Linked DNA regions of Homo sapiens: region 1 is linked to region 2. The links are contacts of gene promoters, found by promoter capture Hi-C in blood cells and fetal thymus (Javierre and others, 2016). All regions are on one chromosome and are shown on one strand. Each heading gives the region's core, a stretch centred on a gene start or on the middle of the fragment in contact. The rest is flanking DNA. Distances are from core to core; before and after follow the strand shown.

What was found. The method cuts DNA at HindIII sites, captures the fragments that hold promoters and counts their contacts. A CHiCAGO score of 5 or more calls a contact.
Region 1: the fragment with the promoter of CABS1 here is called in contact with the fragment with the promoter of UGT2A1 in region 2 in 5 of 17 cell types (naive B cells, monocytes, M0 macrophages and 2 more); the score reaches 6.5 in naive B cells.

The regions. Positions count from the first base shown.
Region 1 is chr4:70,332,011-70,336,932 of GRCh38, reverse strand. CABS1 (calcium binding protein, spermatid associated 1) reads right to left here and starts at 1,952. Exons shown (of 2, transcript NM_033122.4): 1 at 587-1,952. The coding sequence starts at 1,893. The coding sequence ends at 706. The HindIII fragment of the contact is 765 bases long and covers 1,225-1,989 here.
Region 2 is chr4:69,649,683-69,655,270 of GRCh38, reverse strand. It overlaps UGT2A1 (UDP glucuronosyltransferase family 2 member A1 complex locus), which reads left to right and starts at 2,024. Exons shown (of 7, transcript NM_001252275.3): 1 at 2,024-2,083. The HindIII fragment of the contact is 6,501 bases long and covers 789-5,588 here.

The DNA.
Region 1 (4,922 bases), core at 703-3,202, 680 kb before region 2:
TTTTAACAGAAAGAAAATTAAATTGATGTATATGTTTACAGAACATTTTTCTGACAAATATGCATATTTGTAAAATATCATTTTGCTTTAGTTTGTATCTAACATGTGCCAAGAACCCTATCATAAATCTTATGTATCTTACATGTGGGTGCTAAACAATTACTGAATTGTCTTAATTCTTATATGAGGATTAAAAATTTTTTAAATAGAAGAGAATCACTGATGAAATACTAATGAAAAAATTGCTTAGAACAAGCATTTTGGGAGAACTTTTTAGGCTATGGTAATGTTTTGGAGAGGTTAATTTGCTTCTCTTCATATCCTTAATTCTCACTTAAGTATAATATTGACTGTTAACTAAATGATATGCATCATTAAATGTTGTAGAAATGAGCCCCTACATTGCTCTGTCTTCATACTCCCTGAAGGCTAGGACGAAAAATTTTACATTAAGTAATTGTTAGAATATTGAAACTTTGTGATACTAGGGGGACCCTTACACTGCGGTTTTTTTTTCTAAGTTTCCGTAAATCTGTTACATGACCTGTAGTCCTAAGCATCTGCATTTATTGAGTCGAATACTTGCCTTAAATGCCCACATTCTTTCATTTCTAAAGGTTTTTGCTTGTTGGAAAAATTTCTTAGATGTTAAGGCTAGCTGGCTAGACTATTGCACAATTCTACATGGTATCCCTTTTGTTGCTTTTAAATCATGAACTCATCGGGTTCTTCTTTCAGTAGTTCAAAGATATCCGTTTCAGTTGTGGAGGTGTCTTCCTTATAGTCTGGGGTATCTAATACAGAGGTAGTTCCAGAAAATGGCTCAGTGATCTTAGGTACAGTCTCTGTATTATCAGTTTCAGACAAATCTTCTTCTGTAGATGATTCTTCCACTAGGTTTGTAGCTATTGATGCAGGGACAACGAAGTCATATCTGGATTCAACAGCAGTAAGCAAAACAGAATGGGTCTCTGCTTCATTTGCAGTATCTCTCTCCATCCAAATACTGGCTCCCTCGGTAGTTTCTTCATCAGTTAGCAGAGTATCTTCCCGTTTATCTTTGTCTTTTTCAGCAGAGGTAGTGAGTTCAAACACAGTGATAAACTTCTCATCAGAGTCAGTTAATGTAGCCACAGCACTGGTGTCATCTTCTAAAACACTTAGGTCAATTTCGGTTATTTTCTCTTCTTCAAGGGCAGTTATGTCTGGAATAGTAGTGAAGCTTTCTTCAGGAGCAGGAGGGATTTCAGCCTCAGGAATAGTGGAATCAGTGACCTGGACAGCCTCATCAGCAGGGACATTGGATTTGATGGAGGAATTATAATTGCTCATATCAGCTTCATCCTTTTTACGTGGAAAGGCAGGAGCGTCAGCAACACCAGCACTGCTGTCCTTTAGTGTGCCAGAGACTTCAGAGGTTATTGAGATCTCTGCATCTCCTGTGTCAATGGTAGCTAAGAGGATATCTTCTTTTGCTATGTCAGTGGAAAAATCTATTAAAGAAACAGTAGTAACTGGTGATGAAATATTCCCAATTTTCACTGGCATGAAATGTTCGGTAATAGAGTCTCTTGTTATGGAGTTTGTAGTGCCAGTCAGAGAGGTAATTTCTTTCTGTAGGTGAGTTGTTGACTTAATAAAGTCGGTCCCCATATCATCTTCTGATTTGAGTTTTTCCTTTTTAGCTGTCAGTTTGTTGTCTGTAGTTGTTGAAAAATCGCTTTCTAGCATATATTCATTTACTGAAGTGACGTGGTCTCCTTCTGAAGTAATAGTTGTTTCTGATTTGGGAATAGCATTGTCAGCCCCAAAGAAAATGGTTGCTGCAGTTGGTGTTTTACTGCTTTCTGTTGGAGGATGAGAATAAATTTTGGGCAAACCATCTTCAGCCATGGGGCGAAGTGGCACTGTGCACTCTCACAGGTCTTGCTTCTGGACTCAGTGGTATCTCTAGGCAGGAGAGCAGTGTTCATCAGAGTGATTAAAGCTTGGGTCATCATGGTGATTGTTGCATCAACTATGGGAGCAATGTCACTGGGTCTCCTTGGAGGTTGTTTCTAGGCTGCGATTGGTTATCTAATTGCAGGAATATTGAATGAAAAGACTATAGAGTCCGCTCTGATTATGAAATCAAATTCACAGCCAAGCATTTCAATTGCAGGGAACTTAAGATTTACCATGTTTCTGTTTATAAGGAAAATGTCTCCTGATATAGAGCTAGGGTTACTTGAAACAGACATAGCAGAGACTGCCAGGCACCTTTTGGGTTTAGAATTAGTAAGGAAAACTTTGGAAGCCACAAGTTTATCAGCATCAGCTTAAAGTCGTCTATCTTCCAAGCAAGTAACAGAGTATTTTTGAGGTGAAGCCATTTTCCCTTAAGATTCATAGTATTAAAAAAAATTGGTATCTAAAAAAATTAATGGTGTTTTTGTCAGTAAGTATAGCTACAGAAGGTAATTAGGTAGCAGGGAATTCAGTTAGTTCCCTTATTCATAACAGGAAGTCCCACTTTTTCAGTAGAGATAATAACTAATAGTTATTGGCCTGTTTGGGTCTTTTTTTTTTTTTTTTCTTTTTTTGTTTTTTGTTTTTTTTTTTTTCATTTATTTTTATTTTATTTTATTTTATTTTTTTTATTATACTCTAAGTTTTAGGGTACATGTGCACATTGTGCAGGTTAGTTACATATGTATACATGTGCCATGCTGGTGCGCTGCACCCACTAATGTGTCATCTAGCATTAGGTATATCTCCCAATACTATCCCTCCCCCCTCCCCCAACCCCACCACAGTCCCCAGAGTGTGATATTCCCCTTCCTGTGTCCATGTGATCTCATTGTTCAATTCCCATCTATGAGTGAGAATATGCGGTGTTTGGTTTTTTGTTCTTGCGATAGTTTACTGAGAATGATGGTTTCCAATTTCATCCATGTCCCTACAAAGGATATGAACTCATCATTTTTTATGGCTGCATAGTATTCCATGGTGTATATGTGCCACATTTTCTTAATCCAGTCTATCATTGTTGGACATTTGGGTTGGTTCCAAGTCTTTGCTATTGTGAATAGTGCCGCAATAAACATACGTGTGCATGTGTCTTTATAGCAGCATGATTTATACTCATTTGGGTATATACCCAGTAATGGGATGGCTGGGTCAAATGGTATTTCTAGTTCTAGATCCCTGAGGAATCGCCACACTGACTTCCACAATGGTTGAACTAGTTTACAGTCCCACCAACAGTGTAAAAGTGTTCCTATTTCTCCACATCCTCTCCAGCACCTGTTGTTTCCTGACTTTTTAATGATTGCCATTCTAACTGGTGTGAGATGATATCTCATAGTGGTTTTGATTTGCATTTCTCTGATGGCCAGTGATGATGAGCATTTCTTCATGTGTTTTTTGGCTGCATAAATGTCTTCTTTTGAGAAGTGTCTGTTCATGTCCTTCGCCCACTTTTTGATGGGGTTGTTTGTTTTTTTCTTGTAAATTTGTTTGAGTTCATTGTAGATTCTGGATATTAGCCCTTTGTCAGATGAGTAGGATGCGAAAATTTTCTCCCATGTTGTAGGTTGCCTGTTCACTCTGATGGTAGTTTCTTTTGCTGTGCAGAAGCTCTTTAGTTTAATTAGATCTCATTTGTCAATTTTGTCTTTTGTTGCCATTGCTTTTGGTGTTTTGGACATGAAGTCCTTGCCCACGCCTATGTCCTGAATGGTAATGCCTAGGTTTTCTTCTAGGGTTTTTATGGTTTTAGGTTTAACGTTTAAATCTTTAATCCATCTTGAATTGATTTTTGTATAAGGTGTAAGGAAGGGATCCAGTTTCAGCTTTCTACATATGGCTAGCCAGTTTTCCCAGCACCATTTATTAAATAGGGAATCCTTTCCCCATTGCTTGTTTTTCTCAGGTTTGTCAAAGATCAGATAGTTGTAGATATGCGGCATTATTTCTGAGGGCTCTGTTGTGTTCCATTGATCTATATCTCTGTTTTGGTACCAGTACCATGCTGTTTTGGTTACTGTAGCCTTGTAGTATAGTTTGAAGTCAGGTAGTGTGATGCCTCCAGCTTTGTTCTTTTGGCTTAGGATTGACTTGGCAATGCGGGCTCTTTTTTGGTTCCATATGAACTTTAAAGTAGTTTTTTCCAATTCTGTGAAGAAAGTCATTGGTAGCTTGATGGGGATGGCATTGAATCTATAAATTACCTTGGGCAGTATGGCCATTTTCACGATATTGATTCTTCCTACCCATGAGCATGGAATGTTCTTCCATTTGTTTGTGTCCTCTTTTATTTCCTTGAGCAGTGGTTTGTAGTTCTCCTTGAAGAGGTCCTTCACATCCCTTGTAAGTTGGATTCCTAGGTATTTTATTCTCTTTGAAGCAATTGTGAATGGGAGTTCACCCATGATTTGGCTCTCTGTTTGTCTGTTGTTGGTGTATAAGAATGCTTGTGATTTTTGTACATTGATTTTGTATCCTGAGACTTTGCTGAAGTTGCTTATCAGCTTAAGGAGATTTTGGGCTGAGACGATGGGGTTTTCTACATAAACAATCATGTCGTCTGCAAACAGGGACAATTTGACTTCCTCTTTTCCTAATTGAATACCCTTTATTTCCTTCTCCTGCCTGATTGCCCTGGCCAGAACTTCCAACACTATGTTGAATAGGAGCGGTGAGAGAGGGCATCCCTGTCTTGTGCCAGTTTTCAAAGGGAATGCTTCCAGTTTTTGCCCATTCAGTATGATATTGGCTGTGGGTTTGTCATAGATAGCTCTTATTATTTTGAAATACGTCCCATCAATACCTAATTTATTGAGAGTTTTTAGCATGAAGGGTTGTTGAATTTTGTCAAAGGCCTTTTCTGCATCTATTGAGATAATCATGTGGTTTTTGTCTTTGGCTCTGTTTATATGCTG
Region 2 (5,588 bases), core at 775-3,274:
CACATAGAACCACCAGGATGACTTTTGCTGCATGAGGTATATACAGGGAAATCAGTAGAACTGTCCAACTGAGCCCAGCACAAACTTCTCACCCAAAAAATTGGTAGCAAATAAAATGATTGTTGGTTGAAGCTACTAAATTTGAAGTGACTTTTTTCACAGCAATACACAACTGATACACATAGGAAAAATAACTCAGAAATTAAAATGAAAAGAAAACATTTGACATGAATTTTTCAAAATGCTTTTTAAACATTGATAAAAATTATTATCATACATGGTATGAAATATGGTTGTTTTACAAAGAAGTTTATTGGTTAACCTTGAAGTTGATGATACTTTATTCAGTATTTCTCATTAATTATAAGTGGTGAAAATTGTTGTCATTGAATTGGGTAAAATGAGTCATTTCCAAGAAAAGCTTCACCAATTTAAAATATTTTCTTGTTATAGAGTTAGTCCCATGAAGCCTGTTAGTCTTCATGGGAGGGTGAGTAGAATAACAGTAATCTTTTACACCTAGAAATATATTGGAATCATAGGGAGTCTTCAGGCCTACTGTGTCCAGTGTTCATTATAAATTTTTCTTATTTCGAGTCTCTCTTTTGTCTAGTTGGGAATCATGCTGTTCAATATTTTCAGTTACTGGCTTTGCTCATTCTGTCCTAGATAGAAATTTAACCACCTGTAGCAAGTAAAAATCTTGGACAAGCAAAAAAACTTTTATATTACAGTTAATATATTTGATATAAATTTTACAGTACAGAGAACCAAACAGAAAAGAAGCTTTTTTAAAAAAAAATTAGTTATCAATTATTTGGCTTAAAAGGAATGTGTGTGTGTGTGTGTGTGTGTGTGTGTGTATTTGTGACTGGGATTATAAAAAGATAATAGAGTATGATCAAATAGATTTGAGTGAAAACTACAGGAATTAAAAATATTAATTAACACCCATGCTGTGTTCCAAGTGTGAAGGCAAAAGATATATTACTGCAAGTGTAAAGACTCAGAAAAGTTTCTATTTGAGGGCTCATGTTGAAATATTTGCATGAAGACTCATTTTATTTAGCTGAGAAGTTAATTACATTAGCTATTCAAAATGGAGAAATCATTGTATGAAACACACACATTACTTCTCTTTTATCAAGATTGAACTTGCACTCCATGAATTGATGAATATTTGTAGTCAGATGTATGCAATCCAAGCTGACTTGAACTTAAAGACTTGCTTGGGGCCTCCACTGTTCTTCTTTATTTCCTCTTCAATGTTATCATACAAAGTGTGTCTCTGCCGGACTATGCCATACTTATCAGCTGTATGAAATTTATTTCCACATTTCCATAAGTTTGCTTATCAGCAAAAACAACAAGTGGTGATGTTCTATCTCAGTACTTAGTTATTACTAAATATGACATATTTGGGATGCTATGCCAAAAAACATACTAAGTTATTTTTTGCTACTTCAAAATATTTGCACAAAGAAACAGCAGTAATTTTATTCCCCAAGGATGGTGCATAATGAAGGTGTGCAACTCTAAAAAAGTTATTTCATTATCTAAATTACTATCTTCTTTATTTATGGCAAAGATCAATCAAACCACCCACTTTCATCATCATGAATCAGGAAAATATATATATATAAATAAAAATAAAGACATTTTAATTTTTAAAACTTTTTTCATAATAATATAATAATTGTTTGTTTCATAAGTTTGAGGGATATTAATTGCTCATACTTATTCATAACAATCTCAAGATTACTAATTATTGTCAATCTTATTTTAGATATATCCTGGCATACTTGGTTAGTTGGGGTAGGGGCAGAGACCATGATAGTAAATGCAAAATTCAGGGCAAATAGTTGCTAGGGAACCAACAGAAGGTTACACCTTTGACAAAAGGTTAATCTGCTTCACAGTGTAGTGGGTGGAAAATGTTAAGTATAAACAACTTTACATAATCTTTTTTCCATTTAAGATCATATTACTCATTATATTATGCTTATCCACCTAGGATTTATTTACATTCGGCTTCTTCCTAATGTCAAATGAGTGCTGTTAAAGTTCCTCCAGGAAACTTCAGGTAAGAAACTAGAAAACTTCATGATAATCAATATAAAATGTATATTTTAATTTATTTTCCATTCTCTTCTTAAAGAAATATCAATCTTTAAAACGCTGGTTTACCTTTTGGTTTGTTTCATTGCTTACCCATGAAAGCATTATTAGTTCTACTTTATAATTTGATGGATTTTTCTCCCAGATTTTATACTTCAAAATAATTTTACAGATATCGAGGGAACTGTGTGGACAGAGCAGTAAGTTGAGAGTTTTGTCTAAGTGTGAACTCAAAGTCCTCTTTAGGGATTCTTCTCATGCCTTTTGTTCCTACCAGTGGAGAGTTGTTTGTTCCTTCATTAGATGACACATAAAGTGACAAATAAGAAACTTTATACTGATATATGGTGAAGACAAGAATAATGTACACAAGTGACCACTGTGGTCCTTAAGACAACACATGAATGAGAGGATGTGAGATGTCATCTTTAGTGGGTATTTTATTTTCTTAATATTGTTTAATGGATTTTTAAATATTTATTTTAAAATCTATTTACTTTAAATATAAGTCAAATGTTTTATGCTATAAATCAAATAAGTTTTATGCAAAATCAATTTTATTTATTAAAAAAAGAAAATAATGGCCAGGCGCGGTGGCTCACCCCTGTAATCCCAGCACTTTGGGAGGCCGAGGAGGGTGGATCACCTCTGGTCAGAAGTTCAAGACCAGGTGAAACCCCGTCTCTACTAAATATACAAAAATTAGACAGGTGTGGTGGTGGTCGCCTATAATCCCAGCTACTCGGGAGGCTGAGGCAGGAGAATAGCTTGAACCCGGGAAATGGAGGTTGCAGTGACCCGAGATTATGCCCTTGCACTCCAGCTTGGACAACAAGAGCAAAACTTGGTCTCAAAAAAAAAAAAAAAAAAGGACATAAAGTTTTTCTAAAGAAAATGCTGTTGTAAAAGCAATAACCAATTGTGTTAATGTGAATGCCATGCTAACTCCTTTTGTATGCAGTTGTTAACCAGTAGAAGGCATCTGAGTTATCAGTGGCGAATCCTTACAGGTCTGAAGCAACTTCAATTCTTGCCTCCTCAGAAGTAAGAATTTGACTGGGGGGCATCAGGCAGATGAGACTGACGGGAGTTTCAGAGCAGGAGCGGAAGTTTATTTTAAAGGCTTTAGAACAGGAAAGAAAGGAAAACGTACTTGGAAGAGACTCAAGTGGGCACCTGAAGTGCCCCGTTTAACCTCGATCCTAGGACTTTATAGGCTCGCCTCTTTTCCATGATTCTTCCCTTAGGGTGGGCTGCCCACATGTGCAGTGCCCTTCTTACCCTTGGGAAATGAGCATGCACAGTCTGTTTAGGAAGTTGTATATATGCTCATCTGAGGCTTTCTTCCCTTTTTTGGTAAAGTGTCCTTGGATGGTCACACTTCAACATTTTGTCTCTTAATGCACGTGCCCAGGCAGTCGCTCCTCTCTGGCATCTGCATTCAATTAACACTTTAATGTTAACAGCTGTGGATCATAAAGAGCTTGTCTCTCCCTGGCACTACTGGCTGCAAAATTCTCATTTTTAGAGAGGCAGTGTGATAATCATGGAACTGTCACCTGACATTCCTAATGCCTATCTAATTACCTGTAACACAATTAAGCAAAGTATATATTTTATTATCATTCTCTAAGATGAAAATATTTGAGTATGCTAGCTTCTTCTGAAATACGTTAGTTTTTTTCTCTGAATTCATGAGCTTTCACAAATATAGTAATCATATTACACAGTTTATTTTTATTTTTAATTTTATGTGCACATAGTATATATAGGTATATATTTATGACATATTTGTGATGTTTTGATACAGGCATACAATGTGTTTCTTTCAAAATTTTTCTGGCAAGGGCAGATTAGCTTTTCAGTGATTTTAAGATCAGAGTAATTACAAACACAAATTCAGACCCACATTTTAGGCCAAATCTTTTTACTTAACAACCTCTTTAAGCCTTTTGTTGTGAATATAACTTCATTTAGTTTTCTATTAAATTCGAAAATACAAATCAATCTAAAATTTAACCTCACTAGTGTGAGAAATTTTTTAATACTGATCATATTTCTGAGGTATTTATGCTGTATCAGCACATCACATGTATCACATGAATTTATGCGTCTATTATGTACTCCACAAAAATTAAAATAGAAAACATTTAAAAACACTAAAGTTCATTAGTGGCATAACAGCAATTGCCTTTTTGCGCACTGCTTGTCATGCACATCCAGGTAGCCTATACTTCAGCATGAATATCAAATATCATACCTTTCATGAAGACTTTCCTATCCTCCACCCTACCGTTAATCCCCCCAAAAAGCTGGAAGTAATCTCTACAGATCTCTGAAAACACTTTACCTATGTCATTTCATCTGAAGGCCCTTGTTAATTTCTCTAGGGAAGAGAAAGAGAAGGGATTACATGAAAAAGATAGTATATTTTTAAACGTCACTTTTACTCCAGGTAATATACTTGTTGCTTAATAAATACAATTGTATCTATTTAAATATATAGTTTTCTTATATGTGGTATGTATTATTACATAATAATTTATGGTATTTTTTGTATATTCATTTTTAATTTATTAACAGATATGTTGTTTATTTTATTTTATTACTTTATATTCTCAAACTCAAGTTGTTTTTAATTTTCATTTTATATATGAGAAAATTGAGTCTAATAAATATTAAGCAGCATAATGTGAAGCTAGGATTCTTTGGCCTAATTTATTCTAAAATCTAAATTATGTTTTTAATATCTTGCTGACTATAATGTACTACAGTGATTTTTGTCACAGATATGTATGTATTTTTCTTATCTTCCACTGATAGACTATAAAATTAATATGAGAAAGATCTCCTGGATTCCTCTTCTACCTAGTAGGTACTGCTGTGTGTGAATAGTAGGTACCCAATAAACACATAGTGAAGCAGCCCAGGGTCACTGGAGCAGTCTCCCTATCTGAGGTATTACTCAAGAGTTCTTTGTCTTAGGACCAAGAAAATTAATGAGCGTGGACATCAAAGGTGAGGTTGGAGTGAAAGTTTAATAAGTGAAAGGGGAAAGTTTTCCACAGCAGAGAGGGGGCCCAAGAGGATTGCCATTTCTCAGTTGAATACAAAGGCTTTTATAAACAAGCCAGTGGGGTGGGGTGTTTAATTTTCATATGGCACACAAAAAAAGATTTTTATTTGCAAAGGTGTGAATTTCTCACAACTCCACCCACTCCCTCTCATGCACATGCAGGCCCTTAACCTGAGTTACTCCTTATTACCCTGTTTCCTTACTGCGCATGTGTCAGGAGATGGACTTTTCCATTACAGACATGTCTGGTTCTGTGTAACTAATCTTATCTGTGCACCTCCAGGCATGTTGTAGGCAAGCCCCACTGTGTAAGTTATTTTATCTGATTATGTCCAAAAAAGGAAAGAAACATGCTCACTGAAGCCCACAGCATGTATATGTATATGTATATGTC